Linked DNA regions of Homo sapiens: region 2 is linked to region 1. Evidence: promoter capture Hi-C in 16 types of primary human blood cells and fetal thymus (Javierre and others, 2016). All regions are on one chromosome and are shown on one strand. The core of a region is centred on a gene start or on the middle of the fragment in contact, and the rest is flanking DNA. Distances in the headings are between cores, read along the strand shown. Region 1 holds the start of ENPP4 (ectonucleotide pyrophosphatase/phosphodiesterase 4). Region 2 holds the start of TNFRSF21 (TNF receptor superfamily member 21).

Region 1 (6,182 bases), core at 1,045-3,544:
ACCATAAAAACCCTAGAAGAAAACCTAGGCATTACCATTCAGGACATAGGCATGGGCAAGGACTTCATGTCTAAAACACCAAAAGCAACGGCAACAAAAGCCAAAATTGACAAATGGGATCTAATTAAACTAAAGAGCTTCTGCACAGCAAAAGAAACTACCATCAGAGTGAACAGGCAACCTACAAAATGGGAGAAAATTTTCACAATCTACTCATCTGAAAAAGGGCTAATATCCAGAATCTACAATGAATTCAAACAAATTTACAAGAAAAAAACAACCCCATCAAAAAGTGGGCGAAGGACATGAACAGACACTTCTCAAAAGAAGACATTTATGCAGCCAAAAAACACATGAAAAAATGCTCACCATCACTGGCCATCAGAGAAGTGCAAATCAAAACCACAATGAGATATCATCTCACACCAGTTAGAATGGCAATCATTAAAAAGTCAGGACACAACAGGTGCTGGAGAGGATGTGGAGAAATAGGAACACTTTTACACTGTTGGTGGGACTGTAAACTAGTTCAACCATTGTGGAAGTCAGTGTGGCGATTCCTCAGGGATCTAGAACTAGAAATACCATTTGACCCAGCCATCCCATTACTGGGTATATACCCAAAGGACTATAAATCATGCTGCTATAAAGACACATGCACACATATGTTCATTGCAGCATTATTCACAATAGCAAAGACTTGGAACCAAGCCAAATGTCCAACAATGATAGACTGGATTAAGAAAATGTGGCACATATACACCATGGAATACTATGCAGCCATAAAAAATGATGAGTTCATGTCCTTTGTAGGGACATGGATGAAATTGGAAATCCATTCTCAGTAAACTATCGCAAGAACAAAAAACCAAACACTGCATATTCTCACTCATAGGTGGGAATTGAACAATGAGAACACATGGACACAGGAAGGGGAACATCACACTCTGGGGACTGTTGTGGGGTGGGGGGAAGGGGGAGGGATGGCATTGGGAGATATACCTAATGCTAGATGATGGGTTAGTGGGTGCAGCGCACCAGCATGGCACATATATACATATGTAACTAACCTGCACATTGTGCACATGTACCCTAAAACTTAAGGTATAATAATAATAATTAATAAATAAATAAATCTAAGACCTGAGACCATAAAAAAAAATGTCTTCCAAATTATATCCTGTAACTAATTTAAGTGGAGGTGGGGGGAAGACGCACAAGTGCAGCAGGCCTCTTAATTTCCTTAAAACAGATTGAAACAATCTCTGAGGGGAAAAAAGAAGAAATAGAAGCTCATAATACTGAAACCAGCAGTTGATATTTCACAGTAGTTGGCAAATCTTCCTTCAGACTTGGGTCCACAAGATTGCCTGATTAAGCAAAGCCCTTCTGGAGTCAGATCTGGTGTAAACCTGAATCTGCCTGTCACTAGTTGTACAATCTTGGTTGGACGCGTCCCTTCACTTCTCTGAGCCTGACTTTCGTCATCTGTAAAATGGGAATGCTATGATCTCATAGGGTGGTTGTGACAAGAAAAGGAAGCATTGTTTTTAAGTCCTTACGTGCTTTTAATCCAGCCCTTTAAAAAGGCACTTAAATGTACCTTTTATTGTTTGGTTGGCTTGTTTTCCAGGAAATTAGTTCTTAAATATCATTATCTATAATTAACATAAACTCTAATCTAATATTCAGACAGACGGATGTCGATGCCATGGGTGGTTCTCCTTTAAAACCAAAAGCCTGGCGACCCCGCCCCAGCTCCCCTCAATTTTACCCCAGACCCACCTTAGGTTCCTCCACTACCGTTCGGCTGACTTCCCTCCCTTCACACTTAACACCACAGGTTGCCTTCCCCAGCACCTGCTAATTTTTCTTTCCTCTTCCCTTCCTGGCCTCCGCCTCGGCCCGCCACCTCCCTGGCTCTTTGAGTCCCTTCGTGGACGTCCCCGCCGCGCCCCAGGGGATGTGCGTGTAGTGGGGGAGAGTGGGTCATAGGGTCTGGTCTCACCATCTCTATTTTCAAAGCCCCTAGGGGACTGGAGAGGGGGTGACATTGCCCCCCAGAACGCCGAGCGCGCGAGGCGCGTACTCACCAGCCGCCGCGGTCGCTTCTTTCCAATGCGCGGAACTCGGCGCTCGCGGCACCTGGCACTCGTGGGAAGTTGCGGGGAAGGGGGACCTGGAGGAAGAGGGGCGATGCCGAGCTCTTCCTGAGGCGCCTGCGCAGTGGCAGGCGCCGCGCCGCGGGGCACAGCCCCAACGTCCCTATCTGCGCCGCTCGGGGCGCTCCGAGTGTGCGCAGCTGCCAGGCGAGCGTCTAAGGCGCCAGCTCAGGGCTGGCTGGGACCGGGCAGCAGAGTCTGAAACACGTCCTTGGATTGGATGCTAGAACCAGCGTTGAATGTAACTTTCTTTCCGATTGGTTAGACAGGTGCTTGGAGGGGTTGTATCGGACCTAAGAGTAGAGGTTGATTCCACTCTCCCACCACGCACTTTTCGTATCATCCTAGATCTGGATGCCCTTCATGGAACCTAAAAACCAGCGAGTCCCGGAAAGGCCTCAGGCAATTGCCAAGCCGATGGCCTTCTGCCACTTAGTTAATGTGCACCTGGCAGCTTAGGTGGCCGCGGAGAAAGCAACTTTGGCTGCACCAAGGTCCGGCACAAGTCTGGAGAAGCTTCAGCCAGTTCCAGTGAGTTGGGATAAATGAAACGTGGATCTACCATAGACGTCTGTCCGTCTTACTGGATAAGCGAGCACCTTTACCGGGGAAGTTAGGTAATAGTTTACAAGTAAGGTTAAAAGCAGCACAGTGCCTGCGGCAGGGAACCAGTAATGAGTTACAGCTGAGAAATGGGTGCTTACTTTGACAGACGCGTATGTGGGATTGTGCTCCTGCTTTTAATTGGAAGGTTATTTAATAGAATAATGTAACTAAACTTTCCAACATAAAGAGCAGTTACCAAACAGAAGTAGAATTATTCGCTAACAGTTGGGTTGTCCAGGCACACTTGGCAGTGAGAGGATAGCATCTTTTTTCTTTTTATCTGTAGTGCCAAACAGAACTTGGTATAGAAGTACTTGCTAAATCACTATTGAATTTAATTGTCCCGCTTGTTAAAATGCAGGCTCCAGAAGGTATTTTCTTTCTTGTTCACTACTGTATCTCCAGCTCAAATAAAAAGTACAAATAAATTAAGAATATTAATCACATGTGATATCCTCAAGTGTTAAGTATTTAATAGCTGTAAATCCAGTACCTGGATTAGTAAACTGCAGTACTGGACCTTAGATAACAAATTCTGACGTTGGTCCCCTTGGTCTGAACCTTACAGTATAGCTATTACCAACAATCTGGAAGCAGCCATGGAGATGATTTGGCAATAGATGTATTCCGTTGATTATTAGTTTGTGCCTTGATAAATTAATTCCAGTTTTAAGTCTCAGGTTGGCCTGTGCATTGGTGAATATGGGCATCTTAGATCCATGGGCTTTCAGAGCTGGAGGGGATGGTAGTGGGTCTGTAGCTGAATCCCTAGAACCTGCAGACCCTAGAACCTGGTTTGAATACTCACTCTGTCACTCACCAGCAGAGCAATCATGGGCCAGTGTCTCAACCTATTTGAGCTTTCATTTCCTCATCTGCAAAACGCGTCTTGTTACAATACCAACCTCTTACTATCAAATGAATGAGGAAAGCGAGTAGAGTATTCAGCACAGTATCTGACACATGTTGTTTTGGGGATTATTATCATTATGACCAAAAAAGTACCCCAATTTGAACAATAGTCAGGGTAAGGCCAAGTTTTGGGGGAATTTAGGTAATGTCCAATGACATAACATTTAAGATTAGCAGAACTTAAATTTTGTGGCATTTGGGGGTATTGTGCATATCCTGTTTGTTCATTCAGTAGGTGCATATGTATGCTTAAAGGGTGGACAAAACTGAATGCCATCTAGGTCAGATGTGTGGTGAAGATAGCAGCTGGATGGGCATCAGGAGAGGACTCTCTTTATCCACTGCTACTGCCTGTGTGGCTGGGTTAAATTAGGGAGTCTCATGCCACCTGGGCTCTTGCTCTGTAAGATAAAGTGGTCAGGAACAGAGGGACAAAATGACACATAAGGACCTTTGGCCCTAAACTTTTGTTATCCTCTATATATTTACCATTTCAACCACAACCAAAATCCTGTTATAGTAAGGATATTTATCGTCTTGTGGAACAAGAAGTCCAGAGGTAAGGCAGACTTCAGGACTGGTTGAGTTAGCAACTCAACGATTTCATAATGTACTCAGTTCTTTGCAGCTTTACACTTGGCTTTTAACAGAGTAGACTTCTGGTTCCTTTAGTGGTAAATATAACTACCAGCAGCAACAGGAACCATGTAATTCATTTTTCACTTCCACTGGGTGATAGAAATGACGTCTAGATTTCTTCTGTCTCTTAGAAGTCTTCAGCAACTGTCTCCTTTAATCACTTTGGACAGAATTGTGTCACATATCCAAATCTAAGCCAGCAAAGGATATGGTTACCTGTAGACCAATGCAGTCCACATCTTAAACTGAGGTCTCACCCAAACTTTACTTTTTTTCTCAATGGAAATGAGTTGGAATGGGTGCTGGGAAGCCGGCCACAAAGTTCACTATAGTTTCATTGTAGAACTTTAATGATAATAAAAGAAAACATAATAGTAACATAAATTTCTTATTTACAATGTGATTTTTAGGCATAAGTGTTGTTTTATTTAGGTAGGCAAAATAATATTCATTTATAATGTTCTTTCAGCTCAGCTTTTGCAAAGGGAATTTTATATAAATTTTGGAAATATAGAGAGCCTTTAAACCCATTTTATGTTAGAGATTGAAATGAATTAGAGGCAATAGTCTAAACTTATTATTTACAAATGAATATACCCCACAGAGAAATGACTGAGCAAACATACAGTTAGATAGAAGAAATATATTCTAATGTTTGATAGGAGAGTAGGGTGACTATAGTTAAATGTATTTTATATTTCAAAATAGCTAGAAGACAGGACTTGAAATGTTCCCATCACATAGAAATGATAAATACTCGAGGTAATGGATACCCTAAATACCCTGACTGGATTGTTACACGTTCAATGCATGTAACAAAATATCACATCTGCCCTATAAATGTATAGAAATATTATTTATCAATACACAAAAACTAAGTACAACTAGAGCATTTGCCTCTATGGGGCAATGTCAGATTTGGAAGCAGCATGTCAAAGGCAGTTTCTTTTTCTCCCATGAACTACGCTCAAGACTGAACATTTATTCATTAACACAAAATATTTTAAAAATCTTATCCTGTTTTCAAAATTTAAGACATAGCTCTCTATACAATTATTTCTCTTTTATACTCCTAATTGTGATGTATAACTCATTGCTGGCCAGGAGAAGGTCAGAAGTTAGAAGTTACAGGAAGAAGGTTTCAGAGCAAAAGCCACACGCTTCCCAAAGAAAAACAATTCCTGTCCACTGCTCAGTTCTAATTAAACAACAACACAACTGAAACTAAATAATTGAATGTCAAGGAGAGTATTTAAGGTTCACTTTTTAATATAAATTAGATGTTTAAGTAATACAGATTTTATCTTAAATATAACAGGGGAAAAGGACCTTATGAATCATTGCATTTTAGTGATTTTGAAAGTTCCTTTGGTGAAAACTTTTCACCTACTCCATTTTCAGTAAGATTATATTGGAATAATCTCAATCAAGTTAAGATTGTAAAATATTTTTAAGTGCTCCTTTAAAAAATGATTCTGTATTAACCACCATGAACTATTGTGTTAGACCTTCACTCTAAAGGAATTTTTTCAAATATTTAATAAAGCTGTGAAAGAATCAGTATAAATTCTTTTGAGGCTTTCCTATGTGGAGAGCAATGTGCTCAATTTTTCAAAAGATACAAAAATAAGTAAGATTAATTCCTTGCCCTCAAGGTGCCTCTAATCTAAGAAAATGAATGGAGAGGACATTACTCTCTTGCTTTTGCCTGCCCAGCATTCATTCCTCCTCCTTCTGGCAATTCCTCCAAGAGACAAACCCACCTTCATTCTTTGACTATGGGAGTCAGATGGGGCTGACTGTTAATTCCCCTCATCCACGGGGCAGACTCCTAAGGTGCCAGCTATCTTGGTTTGTCCCAAA
Region 2 (6,182 bases), core at 2,530-5,029, 1.2 Mb before region 1:
TGTCTAAGTTACCACATTGAAAATGTGGCAATGAATTATTTAATGGTTGCAGCATTGTTACTTCAAAATGGAAGGCATGTATACATTTCAATTCAAAGTAATAAAATTTCACACTGCATCTAGATTCAAATTATCTATAATCTATCACTCTATAGAGGGACATGTATTTAAATGTTAGTAGTAAACAGAATTGAGTAAATTTTTTCATCTCTCAAAATGTATATTAAATTTCAACTTGATATGATCAATGGAACACCAGGAATTCATGAAGTTTCAAAGTGGTCCAAGCACAAATAAACAATTTTCTTTTAGTTTTAGGAAGACAAATAGTTGAGAAGAACTTCTTATACCTGCATAGTAACCCAGACACTAAACTCTAAAGTTGCCCAACTCTTTAGAGCAAATCAATCATATATTACCACGAAAAATGTGAGTTTGGATGCAAGGAGTAAAATGGACTAAATAAAAACGTATTTGAAGCTCCTCCTCCTCTTTAATACCTATGTAACTTCTTAAAAAAAAACAACCCAACCTTATAATAGTATTGGCCAGTCATTTGAATTTTTGAAGAAAAAATTGATACAGTTATGCATGAAAACACAGCATCTATCCCTCACTCTTTCAACTTCTGAAAATAGCTAGAGAGTGGCAAGTCCAACCATCATCCTTTCCCCAAAACTCCATAATTAATGGTAATATTTTCTAGAACTCCTTTGAATTTCACTAGAGGTTATATATTGTAGCTTTTTTCCCACTCTAACATTTATAGACAATACTGACAAATGTTTGAAATAATAGATTGGAATTAACCCTCATATTAATTTTAGCTTCTACCAAAGTGTGCATAGAGCAAAGAATCAAAGGACAACATGTTAACTAATAAAGCAAATAATTGGTACCTATGACTTAGCAAGTTACCTTTATTAGCACTGGGTGTTGGATCTTGAAACTGATAGTTTAAAAAGTGTGATTCTTTTGAAATGGGACCAAAGGAGCCTAGGATAAGCCCAGCACCATAGGGCTCCCAATTGAGGGGTGTGGACTGGATGGCTGAAGAGGTAATATCAATACAGTGTGCCATGTGCTGTCAGTACCTAGATGATGGATAACACGATACCAGAAATGGTGGCCACAGTCAGGAGACTCGGCCTTCCCCCAGGTGAAACAAAGAAAAGGATAACAGCTGCTCTCTTACATTCAGAAGTGTGTGAGATACCAACATCCACGAGAATATTCCAGTTCTCCTTCTGAAGCAGAATACTACCTATTCTACCACCCACATCCTGACAAGGCCTTTGGAAATCAACTCAAAAATTTTTAGCATTATTTTTTGGGGGAAGGGTGATTAAAAAAAATCTCAGGGATAATCCGATTCAAAACTCTTGATTTTTAAATTAGGAAAATGCATCTTTTGATACATTTCAAGGAGTTCAAAAGTCCCTCCAAGACCATCCATGGACCCAACACCAATGACTCTGGGTTTTAAATCCTTTTAGTTTGGATTTCCTTAATTGCATTCATAAGCCCATATTAAAATTAAAATATAAAAAATTAAAATCTTTGCCCCATATTAAAATCACCCTGAAAACTTAAAAAACAAACAAACAACAACAACAACAAACCTCAATGCCCAGACCAGATCCTGTCCTGTTCCAATTAAATCAGAGTCTCTAGAGGTGGGACCCAAGAATCAATATATATGTTTTGAACTCTCCAGGTGATTCCACAGGGCAGCAAAGTTTGAGAAGCAACACACAGGTCTCCTTTTTCGTCACGCAGTTGATCTAAGTGCTCTGTGGTCTATTCACCATCGCTCTCTGATTTAATCATCGTGTCCGAAACAATGGAAAGGCGTATGTAGCTGAAATAATTTAGTTGGAATTATCTCGGAAAAAATAAGTAAAGTTAGATCAGGAGTGAGATGCTTTCTCAGCGCTTTCCCTGGGTCAACAGGCGCGTGCAATTTCCTCAGCGAACGCCAAGGGGCACCCTCTCCCTCCCCGCTCTACCTGGAACGCCTTCGCCTTTCCAACCGCACAAAGAGCCCGGCCTCCTCCCGGGTGACATCACAAAGGGCCGGTCCCCCGCCCCTTCGGCGCCACCACGTGTGTCCCTGCGCCCGGTGGCCACCGACTCAGTCCCTCGCCGACCAGTCTGGGCAGCGGAGGAGGGTGGTTGGCAGTGGCTGGAAGCTTCGCTATGGGAAGTCGTTCCTTTGCTCTCTCGCGCCCAGTCCTCCTCCCTGGTTCTCCTCAGCCGCTGTCGGAGGAGAGCACCCGGAGACGCGGGCTGCAGTCGCGGCGGCTTCTCCCCGCCTGGGCGGCCGCGCCGCTGGGCAGGTGCTGAGCGCCCCTAGAGCCTCCCTTGCCGCCTCCCTCCTCTGCCCGGCCGCAGCAGTGCACATGGGGTGTTGGAGGTAGATGGGCTCCCGGCCCGGGAGGCGGCGGTGGATGCGGCGCTGGGCAGAAGCAGCCGCCGATTCCAGCTGCCCCGCGCGCCCCGGGCGCCCCTGCGAGTCCCCGGTTCAGCCATGGGGACCTCTCCGAGCAGCAGCACCGCCCTCGCCTCCTGCAGCCGCATCGCCCGCCGAGCCACAGCCACGATGATCGCGGGCTCCCTTCTCCTGGTGAGCGCTTGCGTGGACCGGGGGTGGCGGCGGCGCCGGAGCAGAAGGAACCGCTCTCCGGGAGCCGGGCGGGTCACCGGGCCGGGGCTTAGGGAGGCGCGGGGCCCGGCCGACTGGGTTACGGGCACTGAGGGGTTTCCAAGGGAAGGCAACACACCAGAGGGCCTCGACTAGGTTATTTGGGGGAATCTCAGGGCTCAGCCGGGGCTGGGGAATGAAGACGAATTGTTTTCCTTGCAGTCTGGCTTTGCTGGAGGAGACGCTAGAGGTAGCCGCCCAGCTTCTGCGCATTTGAGGGCTTTTCCCCCTACTCGGCCTACCTCGCGCTCCCCACGCCCGCAGCCACAGCCCCCCACCCATCGGCCACTGCCCCTCTGCGTGGTGTGGGGCCTCGCCGCGGTGTGGGGCTCCCACGGCCGGCCGAGGCCGGCGCTTTGTTGCAGCTGCAATGTCATGTCGGGATGCTACCGCAGTGGAAGACAGTGGTACCGGTGCGCGCCGGACACCGGAGACCTCCGGGTGCTGTCGCGCGGTGCATTCCCGAGCAGGGCGCAAGCCGCCCCCTCCTCAATCCCTTTACCCTCTCTCTTCCCTCTTGGCTCGGGTGGGGTCTCAGGTTCTGTATGCCGAAATATCACCCTTAGACCCACTCTCCGGCGCCTCCAAAGCGCCGGCTTCCAGCCAGCCAGCGCGCCGGCACTGGAATGGGGGGAGGGGGAAGGAGATGTGTGTGAAGGAAGATGAATTTTCTACAGTCTTTCCGATCCCTCGTTTACCTGTGGCTAGGCAGGTGACCCTGCAGGGTGGTGCAGTCTCCCTCATCGTCTAAGCTGCATCCACATCTCGGGTCAATCATCTTGACCAAAAACTTACCCTCAACTTCCCCCAAATTCCCTCCCTTTATTTCCAAATATTGGGGTGAAGGGGCAAGTTAGGTGGAAGAAAATTTGAGATCAAACCCTTGAGCTTCCCTTGCCTATCTTTTATCACTGCAGGAGGGATGGAAATTCTTAGCTAAAAACCGAACAAAAAAACCCCCAAGAAACAAGAGCTTGTTTTCACGACAGGGCTGTGTAAGGGAAAAGCAGGCTTGCTGTCTCCTTCCCCAAAAGGGCTTAACGCCTGGCCAGCCAAGAACTGCTTAGATCTCAGGACATTGCAGTTGCTATGGCCTGGGAATTCATCCTACAGACACTCTGGTTCCTTGTGTGTGTGTTTTAAGAGGAAGAGAGAGACTAAATAAAAGTTTGTTACTGTTAGCATTTATAATGAGGCAAGTCCCAGTCTCCCTTCAGAAACTCTTTTCTGCCCACTTATTAATGGCATGGCCAAGGTTTATATCTTTGAAACAAGTGAAACAAGTGTGGTGGATGGTAAGCAGTAGTCGGGGAGTCTCTTGGGACAATGAACCTGGATTGACAGTCTTGGTGTGGAGAGAAACACATCTAGGTCCATGGGAACACTGATCCTAGTTCAGTGGAGTGAGAACTATCATCATTTCCTTTTTCACAGCTTTAGATCCACTACTATCCACTACTATGTTTCAGGTGCTTCTAACACATCTGATTATTATATGCCTCACAGAGTCCATTCCCAGATTAAATCTTAAGTCATTGTGCAATACTCCATTTATTTTACCTTTTAGCATGAGGTAGGTAATTAAACAAAGGTCTTGATGTAATCAAATGGTAGGTTGCCTTAACTAACTGAGAAAGGGCCCAGCTCCTTTTCTTGAATCATCAGGCTAGGCACCCTGGCTTATGCCTGTAATCCCAGCGTTTTGGGCGGCCAGGGTGGGAGGATTGCTTGAGTCCAGGAGTTCGAGATTTGCCTGGGCAACATAGTGAGACCCCATCTCTACAAGAAATTAGGTGGGTGTGGCGGTGGTGTGCGCCTGTATGCCCAGCAACTCAGGAGGCTGAGGTGGGAGGATGGCTTGAGCCCAGGATGTTGAGGCTGCAGTGAGCTGTGACCATGCCACGGCACTCCAGCTTGAGTGACAGAGTGAGACCCTGTCTCCAAAACCAAAATAAAAAATAAGTCATCAAACTCAACCTACCCTAAAAATTGTGCACTGGATTTGCAACTAAAGACCTGACAATTTAAGTTTGGCTACTTTGAAAAAGATAAAATTTATAATGGGGCTTAGGAGCAGTCTCAAGTTGATAACCAATACAGGATTCCTTATTCTTCTGCTAGCTATGCTAAAAAGACTTCAGGTAAATTCATGAAATGGCATGAGGTTCAGCCCTTCATCCTGAAGGGTGACTGGAGGGTGTGCCAGGAATCAGTAGAGACTATGTTATAATCCCCATCCAGGGTGGGGAGGAAATGCCTTTTGTCTTTCACATTCTTATTCTGCATGCCCAAGTCCACAGCACAGGCTTTGTTAATGTATAAAATGATGATCTCATGATACTGTTCCAAGAAGTATTTATCCCATTGGGATCCTTGGCCATGTGAACATAACGGACATCAGGTACTGGAGCCTGGGTACACGTGGCAGGGTACTCAGAACACTACTGGGGGAGGTGGGCAAGTTAGTGGCCTGCCCACGTATTACAGTTAGATTAAAAAGTAATAATCCCAGTAAAATGTTCTATTTATTATGTCTTTTAATGCTCTTCTTTCAAATATCTCCCTTTTTGTGTGATAATATTTATTGTCATCATTTTTGTGTTATGACTTTTTGTTTGTCATGACCGGCTAACTGCATGAAAAATAGCTTACTATAAGCTTATAAAAATACAAATATATAGGTACACAATATGATATAATATATACACATGTATATAGCAATTGTATATGTATAGAGAGAGCAATTGCTACATGCCAGGTGCTTTGTATACAGTATCTCATTTATTCATAGCATCTTTGTGAAGCAGGTGATATTGTCTCCTTTTTATAGTTGAGAAAATGGAAGCTCCCAGAACTTCATTGGTTTGTCCCAGGCCACACAGCTTGCACGTGATATTGCTGGGGCCAGAACCCAGGACTGCCTGGCTCTTCAGCTCATGTCCTCCCTTAGCCCTGTGCCACACTGCGTGTTTCACAAGTCCAAATTGCTTGATAATGAAATGTAACAACAGAGAAGGCTCACTGGGGAAAAGTTAAGAAGGTGGTTTGGTTTGTTACAGAACGTGAATGAGAATTACAGGAATGCCTTTGGAAGGAAGTATTCTTGCTGCTTGCACTTCTATTTCTGATGAGTGTCTGCATGATAATAGAAAGTAAAACATACACTGAAAGACAAGAGCTGGGTTCAAAAGTCTGGGGCTCAGGTGGACAAAACATTCTTGTTGCTCGACACCCAGTAAGTCTAGTGTGCATGATTGTGCTTTGTCTTCAGAATCTAAGCTTACCTTCCACCATCTTGACTTTACCAATTGTACTATTCTGCCTGAGACACTTACCCTTGCTATATCATATCTCTGTAAGGCAGAGACAAGATCCATGAGAGCTTTAGGTTTGTGCCAGTGATAAGGAATGCTCTAGAATGGCTTGCCCAGAGTGACACTACTTAGTCAGAGATGCCCCTTGCCCTCGGGGAGCTCGC

What was found. The method cuts DNA at HindIII sites, captures the fragments that hold promoters and counts their contacts. A CHiCAGO score of 5 or more calls a contact.
Region 2: a fragment that was not itself captured here is called in contact with the fragment with the promoter of ENPP4 in region 1 in 1 of 17 cell types (fetal thymus); the score reaches 5.7 in fetal thymus.

The regions. Positions count from the first base shown.
Region 1 is chr6:46,126,101-46,132,282 of GRCh38, reverse strand. It overlaps ENPP4 (ectonucleotide pyrophosphatase/phosphodiesterase 4), which reads right to left and starts at 2,294. Exons shown (of 4, transcript NM_014936.5): 1 at 2,094-2,294. It also overlaps a transcript of CLIC5 not described here. The HindIII fragment of the contact is 7,807 bases long and covers 1-2,680 here.
Region 2 is chr6:47,305,860-47,312,041 of GRCh38, reverse strand. It overlaps TNFRSF21 (TNF receptor superfamily member 21), which reads left to right and starts at 2,137. Exons shown (of 6, transcript NM_014452.5): 1 at 2,137-2,626. The coding sequence starts at 2,531. RefSeq lists enhancers at 1,875-2,169, 2,121-2,300, 2,464-3,186 and a silencer at 2,441-2,670. The HindIII fragment of the contact is 3,170 bases long and covers 2,195-5,364 here.